2 separate regions of the Homo sapiens genome follow, and region 1 is linked to region 2. Evidence: promoter capture Hi-C in human tissues and cell types (Jung and others, 2019). All regions are on one chromosome and are shown on one strand. Each heading gives the region's core, a stretch centred on a gene start or on the middle of the fragment in contact. The rest is flanking DNA. Distances are from core to core; before and after follow the strand shown. Region 1 has its middle 19 kb from the start of FAM81A. Region 2 holds the start of CCNB2 (cyclin B2).

What was found. The method cuts DNA at HindIII sites, captures the fragments that hold promoters and counts their contacts. A contact is called where the count stands out against the background at its distance.
Region 1: a contact is called between a fragment that was not itself captured here and the fragment with the promoter of CCNB2 in region 2, in 2 of the 25 tissues and cell types used here (H1 embryonic stem cells and pancreas).

What each region holds. Positions count from the first base shown.
Region 1 is chr15:59,417,213-59,421,310 of GRCh38, forward strand. It overlaps a transcript of FAM81A not described here. Among named protein-coding and RNA genes, the nearest start is that of FAM81A, 19 kb to the right of the region's middle. The HindIII fragment of the contact is 6,339 bases long and covers 1-4,098 here.
Region 2 is chr15:59,102,843-59,106,787 of GRCh38, forward strand. CCNB2 (cyclin B2) reads left to right here and starts at 2,304. Exons shown (of 9, transcript NM_004701.4): 1 at 2,304-2,450. The coding sequence starts at 2,427. RefSeq lists an enhancer at 1,827-2,116. The HindIII fragment of the contact is 5,327 bases long and covers 1-3,945 here.

The DNA of each region.
Region 1 (4,098 bases), core at 1,574-4,073, 310 kb after region 2:
TGCTCTCCACATTCTGATTCTGTCCCTCTCGGAGCCTGAGGATGCTGAGTTAGTGGTCACATGCCGTACCACCCTGTCGCCTCCCCTTTTATATTTACTTCGTTTTCTTAATGTTGCCTCCCCAACCTCTAAATGTTCAACTTACTTTATGATCAAAGTAGCTATTTAAAAACAAACAAACAAACAAACAAACAAAAAAACAAGCTTTTCTGGCTGGATGTGTTGGCTCACACCTGTAATCCCAGCACTTTGGGAGGCCGTGGTGGACAGGTCACTTGAGGTCAGGAGTTCGAGACCAGCCTGGCCAACATGGTGAAACCCCGTCTCTACTAAAAATACAAAAAAAAAAAAAATTAGCCAGGCATAATGGTGCACGCCTGTAATCCCAGCTACTCAGGAAGCTGAGGCAGGAGAATTGCATGAACCTGGGAGGCAGAGGTTTCAGTGAGCCCAGATCATGCCACTACACTCCAGCCTGGGCAACAGAGTGAGACTCTGTCTCCAAAATAAATACATAAATAAATAAAAATAAAAAGATTTTTTTTGCTTGATTATCCCTTTTATTTTTTTTATTATACTTTAAAGTTCTAGGGTACATGTGCACAACATGCAGGTTTGTTACATATGTATACATGTGCCCTGTTGGTGTGCTGCACCCATTAACTCGTCATTTACATTAGGTTTATCTCCTAATGCTATCCCTCCTCCCTCCCCACAACCCACGACAGGCCCCGGTGTGTGATGTTCCCCTTCCTGTGTCCAAGTGTTCTCATTGTTCATTCCCCACCTGTGAGTGAGAACAAGTGGTGTTTGGTTTTCTGTCCTTGTGATAGTTTGCTGAGAATGATGGTTTCCAGTTTCATCCATATCCCTACAAAGGATATGAACTCATCCTTTTAAAATAGGATTTTTTATCTAACTTTGTCGGGAAGACAAGCTGACACTTTCTTCTCTTCTAGAGCACAAATACGGTAGCATTCTCTTCACAGTGCAAGCACATTGAGGGCACGATGTGAGCTGTGAGGTAGTTGTGAGGCTGTGATGAGAAATGAGCTATGGGGGCAGAGGCAACAAACAGTGACAACAGAAAAGCTACCTTACGTGGAGAAGAAGTTCTTTGGATGCAATTTATCTAACTGAGTTTTACAATCAATCAAACTCATCAGCTATAACCCTGCCTTTTCCTGTTTAGAAAACATTTTTACCCCTGTAATTTACAAGGGCAAGCTGGTTGGTTCTCTTGAATCCATTCTCCCCAAAAGTAGAGCAAGAAAGTTTAGAAAGGGTGTTAGAATCTGGTCTAATCAATAGCTCGATCCAGGTTATGAAGGTGTTTCCCAAGCTTGGTGCAATGTTCAGTTTAGTTCATGTATTCAGCTATTTTTTCCTCCCAATTTGTTGTTCATGTTACCCAGGCATGGTAGGAAAAACCGTAAAGGGCGACTTTCCTTGCTCGATTTCCTCTTCATGTCTGCTAACATGGGGAAAGAGCTTAGGCTTTGAAGCCAGACAAGCATGTGTTTAAATCCAGGCTCATCAGTTATTAGTTCTGAAGATGGATAGCTTATTTAAATTATCTGAGCCCCAGTTTCCTTTCCTGCAGAATGGAGGTGATGTCTCCTCCTCACAGAACTGCTGTGAGGAATTAGCAAGGGCATGTGTGCAGACAGCCCTGTCCATTGATATACAATTAATGATGACCAGTGTTAATATTGTCATCATTATCCTTCTGATCTACAATTTGATTTCTGAACAGACTGGCTGTAGAAAAAAAATGTCTTAGGCAGAAGACTGATTCAAATCTCTTGGCTGGTTTCATCCTAAGTTGTAGAAATTAGAAACTGGTATTCTGGTTTTAAGTCACTGGTAGTTGGTTACTAAAATCATTTCATCAGTTCGATTATCTGTAGGCCTAGGGTAATGTCCTGAACACAGTAGGCACGCCCATAACAACGATAATATCAGCAGTAGTAAGGAATAATTTGAATAACCCTTTAATCTATAAAGCAATTACAAAAACCATCTCATTTAACCCTCTCATAAAAACCTATGATTTAACTAAAACAAATCCTGTTATTCTTCTCATTTAGGGAAGTGGAAGATACAATAAGAGATATTAAATAACTCTCACTTTTGTGCCTTTGAACTCCCTGTTTCCTCCCTAGAAACTTCCCCTAATCTCTCTTCTATGTATGAAATTGCAACACGTTCATCAAGGACCATTTTAAGTTTCCTCTCCTCTTTTCATAGGAAAGAACTCATTCTTTTCTGACCTTCTACAGTACTTGAAGTGTGAACCACATTATTTAGTACTTCATTACCCTCTCTTTCATTTCTTCCCAATGGTTTCCTGTGTTTGAATTCTATTAAAAAACAACAGGCCGGGCACGGTGGCTCAAGCTTGTAATCCCAGTACTTTGGGAGGCCGAGGCGGGCAGATTGCTTGAAGTCAGGAGTTCGAGACCAGCCTGGCCAACATGGTGAAACCCTGTCTCTACTGAAAATACAAAAATTGGCCGGGCGTGCTGGCGGACGCCTGTAATCTCAACTACTTGGGAGGCTGAGGCAGGAGAATTGCTTGAGAATCACTCCTGGAGCTGGATTGCAGGGAGCCGAGATCACACCACTGTACTCAAGCCTGGACAACAGAGCGAGACTCCATCTAAAAAACAAAAAAACAAACAAAGAAACCAAAAACCAACTACAGCTCTGCCCCTCTGGAGGTTAGGGATCATGCAGCTGGAATGTATTTTGGGTCTTGCCACCCAGCCCCTTTCCCCTTCACACTCCCTAGCCCAGAGCTGGACTCAGAGCCAATGCCTCATGCATACTGGATTGATTCACAGAGAATTTACCTGAAATCCTGGCATAGAAAATCCATTGCAGGATAAAAATGGAGAATGACTCTTTAGGGACTGCCATCTAAGAAGCAGGGCAAAAATGTTCCTGCTAGGAAATTACAATTCAAGAAACAAACACAAGCAGGAAACACATCTCTTACATGCAGCTTCTAGCGCTGATTCTGGCAATCCCCATTATACCCTGGTAAGTTTAAGTGACTAGGACTTGACTTTAGTCACTGTGTCCCCAGCTTATGCCACTGTAACCATATGTAGGCGGGGACATCTTTTGTGGGTTCATGTCATTGTTCTTCCTGTTGCAGTGATGAGAATTAGCTTCATTGTCTAACAAAATTAAACAACCCTTAACTAAGGGAAGCTAAATAGCAACTGATATTTTTGGAGGCTCTTTCAAATTAGGACAGCTGAGTCTAACGGAAAAACAAACACATTTTATACCAAATACCAGTTGCATGTTGTTGCATACCAAATGTCAGCCTAGAGAGAATTTTTCCTTTCGTTTCTTCATTTTTATCACATTTCTTCCCAGTGCTTTATAAGATTTATTGTATAATCCCAATGATTTTAATGACAGGGTTCCTACCCCCAGTATCACTCATCCAGTGACGAAGCCAAGGAAGGCTCTTTTTTTTTTTTTTTTTTTTTTTTTTTTTTTTTTTTTTTTTGAGACGGAGTCTCGCTGTCGCCCAGGCTGGAGTGCAGTGGCGCAATCTCGGCTCACTGCAGGCTCCGCCCCCTGGGGTTCACGCCATTCTCCTGCCTCAGCCTCCCGAGTAGCTGGGACTACAGGCGCCCGCCACCTCGCCCGGCTAATTTTTTGTATTTTTAGTAGAGACGGGGTTTCACCGTGTTAGCCAGGATGGTCTCGATCTCCTGACCTCGTGATCCGCCCGCCTCGGCCTCCCAAAGTGCTGGGATTACAGGCGTGAGCCACCGCGCCCGGCCAGGAAGGCTCTTGAAGAACGTGCTCTACTGTGTTCTGGTGGGGTCACGTTCTCTAGGCCAGTACTTCTCAGACTTAAATGTGCATACGAATCAGCAGGAGGTCTTGTTAAAATGCAGATTCTGATCCTGTAGACCCAGGTTGGGACCCTTGAACTCTGCATTCCTAACAGTAGAGGGGCTCGTGTTCTTGTGCATAGATCACACTTCGACGGGCAATGTTCTAGGTAGAATTGGAGCTCAGTGGAAAGGCAGATCCCTGACAGCTTGAACAAAGATTCTTGTGTGGGAGTAG
Region 2 (3,945 bases), core at 1,054-3,553:
CAGATTCTTAATGGAACCTGATATCATGGGTGTTAGATCACTCCTTTCCTCTTTTCCTTCTCTTTTCCCATTAATCTCACTTTTTCCTTTCCTGTTTCTTTTTCTGTCTTGATCTTCACCTGCTTCTTTTTACAAGGGCAACATTAATACTGTTCTCTTTGGACTGTGCTAATCCTCCCACTCTTCTGCTCAAGACTGGTGTCACACCTTGTTTTTCATTCTTAAATCTTACATACATCATAAGATCATTTATTAGATGAATATTTTTTAATTAATACACTTAAATTTTATTTCAGTAGCTTTTGGGATATAAGTGGCTTTCTGTGATGTGGGTGAATTATATAGTGGTGAATTCTGAGATTTTAGTGTGCCCATCACCTAGGTAGTGTATATTTTATCTAATATGTAGGTTTCTATCCCTGTCTCCCCTTCCACCCTCCCTCTTCTGAGTCTCTAAATTCCATTATATCACTGTGTTTGCCTTTGTATATTCACAGCTTAGCTCCCACTTACAAGTGAAAACATACGGTTTTTGGTTTTCCACTCCTGAGTTACTTCACTTAGAATAATGGCCTCTAGCTCCATCCAGGTTGCTGCAAAAGACATTATTTTGTTCCTTTTTATTGCTGAGTAGTATTCCATGGTGTATATATACCACATTTTCTGTACCCACTCGGTCGATGGGCACTTAGGTTGGCAATTGTGAATTGTGCTGCTGTAAACATACATGTGCAAGTGTCTTCTTCATATAATGACTTCTTTTCCTTTGGGTAGATACCCAGTAGTGGAATTGCTGGACCAAATGGTAGAACTACTTTTTGTTCTTTAAGGAATCACCATACTTTTTTCCATAGAAGTTGTACATTCCTACCAGCAGTGTTTAAGCATTCCCTTTTCCCCACATCCACGCCTACACTGTTTTTTGACTATTGTTTTTTGAGGTTTTTTTTCTTTTTTAGACAGGGTTTCAATGTGTTGCCCAGGCTGGAGTACTGTGGCACAATCATGGCTCACTGCAGCCTCAGACTCATGGGATCAAGGGATCCTCCTGCCCCAACACACGGCCCCCCGCCCCCCGCCCCCCGCCCCCCTCCCAGTACCTGGGACTACAGGTGCTCACCACTACACCCGGCTAATATTTGTATTTTTGTAGAGACGGGGTTTTGCCATGTTGCCCAGGCTGGTCTTGAACACCTGGGCTCAAATGATCTGCCCAACAGGCCTCCCAAAGTGCTGGGATTACAGGTGTGAGCCACTGCGCCCGGCCTTTTTTTCTGACTTTTTAATGATGGCCATTCTTGCAGGAGTAAGGTGGTATCTCCTTGTGGTATTAACTTGCATTTCTTCGATGATCAGTGATGTTGAGCATTTTTTCATGTATTTGTTGGCCATTTGAATATCTTTTGAGAAATATCTATTCATGTCCTTTGCCCATTTTTTGATGGCATTATTTTCTTTCTTGCTGATTTGAGTTCCTTCTAGATTCTGGACACTAGGCCTTTTTCCGATGCATAGTTTGCAAATATTTTCTCTTAATCTGTGGTTGTCTATTATTTCTTTTGATGTGCAGAAGCTTTTTAGTTTAATTAGGTCCCATTTATGTATTTTTGTTTTTGTTGCATTTGCTTTTGGGGTCTTAGACATGAATTCTTTGCTTGGGCTGATTATTAGACGAACATTTATTGAGCACCAACCATATACGACAAACGATGTACTAGGTGTTGGGAATACAATGGAGAACTTACATGAATCACCAGTCACACAAATCTCTTTTATCTTTTTTTTTTTTTTTTTGCCTTACTTGAGAATTTGGGTTTTTGAGTAAACGCCATTATTCTCTCTTTTTTTAAGCACACTTTTGCATCTCAACCACCTAACACACTGCATCCCTGAGCAACCCGGAGGGGCCGGTTCCTGCACCCAGGCCAACACAACTTAAACCCCAACACACCAGAAGAGGAATAAAGGCCAACCAACTTCCGCCCACCCACTACAAACGTCGAGAGAAATTCGTAGATGAGGCCTTGTCAAAATTCAGAGGCGTCCTACGTCTGCTTTCCCAATGAGACAGTTCCTTTTTGTTTGTCTCAGAGACTGGGGTTTTTTTTTTTTTAAAAGACTGTAGGCAGAAAAAACACCCCAACCGGCTGTTGTGACAATCAAACGTGTCTAAGAAAATTCAGCCAATGAGAGTGCGAGAGTGCATCTTGTGTTGGCCAATGAGAACAGCGACCCGTGCGCAGGGCCGCCCAATGGGGCGCAAGCGACGCGGTATTTGAATCCTGGAACAAGGCTACAGCGTCGAAGATCCCCAGCGCTGCGGGCTCGGAGAGCAGTCCTAACGGCGCCTCGTACGCTAGTGTCCTCCCTTTTCAGTCCGCGTCCCTCCCTGGGCCGGGCTGGCACTCTTGCCTTCCCCGTCCCTCATGGCGCTGCTCCGACGCCCGACGGTGAGTGTGCCCGGGGACCGCTCTCAGAGGCGAGTCCGTCGGCCCCACAGCTCCCCTGTCGCTTCTCTCATCTGCTCCGAGCTTCTCCGTCCCAACCGGGGCTGCTTTTCTCTTCTCCGGAGCTCACTGCTTCGCCCGCGTCCCTGGCCCTGCGGCCGGTCCTCTCCGGCCCGCCTTTCCCCGTCTGGATTCCGCCCTCCCCTAACCCCTCCCTGCCCCGGGGTGGGAGAAGTGTAGGAAAGCGCTTCCGAGATGGCGCCTGTCAAGTGAGCCCCCAGAGCACTAGGCCTAGTACTCAGCGAGCGATCCCCGAGTGCTCTTCATTGCTAGAGAGTTATCTACTTCCACGTTCCTGGGATTTCCCTCCCCCTTTCTTACAACTCCTTGCCAACTAAGGGACCTGTGATGGCGGCTGGGAGGAGGACTGGAAGGGTTCTGTAGGCAGTAAAGTGTACGGCGTGTTTCATCAGGCAACTGCCAGGCTGTTTTTCAGATTGTTCACATTTCTTTTTGTATGAGTTTCCCATTTATTTCGGCACGCTAAGTCTTCCATGCTACGTTCACTAATAAATGGGTTTGTCCCCTTAAAAAATTAATTTCTTTACTCAAATGTAACAGAGGTTTTTGAATATAATTTGGACCAATGTGGCAGACTGAGAGAAAAGGGTCCAAATTCATTTATTTCATCCTTGCAGAGATCAAAGTGTTATGGTGTTTTGGGTATTTTTCCTGTGGGCTTGAATTGTACCGGGACCTACTTTTTTCCTTTGCCGAAAGCTAGAGGGCCCTGACACACCTGAGTTCCATCATCTTGGCTATAAGGTTAGATAAAAGCTGCCAATTTTCCTATCCAGATGAATTTAAATTGAGTCACATTACCAGGCTTCTACCCATAAGCATTACATTTTCAAACACTTTTTCAGATTGGCAGTTGCTGCTGGAAGAAATTGAAGTGTGACTTTTGAGAATCCTAATAGATTGAATACATTTAGCATTTAATTAATATCCTTTTGTGGATCTAAGTCCAACTGACAAGTAATTTTTTATAATAATGTATTCTATAACGTTATTTAATAGTCAAAACCTTTCTGTTCAGGGAAGGCTTGAGTTTCCCTGGCCCCTCTCTCTGCCTGGTAGATCCACTCAAACCCCTTGTTGGGAGTTTTATTAGAGTCGGGACCCTGAACTCTCAGGGATAGGACATGCTGGTTTTTTGCTTTTTTCTTTTTTAATGAAATGTTTATCACTTCTATAATAAACTTTTTTTGGTATGAGTTGCTTTTCCTAGCAAGTTTTATTTCCAAGCACATTATGTCTAAAGCAGGTTAAGGTCAACTGACAATTTTTATTTCATACAATTCCAACCTTCCCTGAGTTTGGGAGCTAAAACTATATTACTCAAGAAAACTACTTCCATTCTAAATGTCCTTAATATAAGAGAAAATCCATTCTATGGCAACCTCATTTTAAAAAGCTGTAGTTCTAAAAGATCATG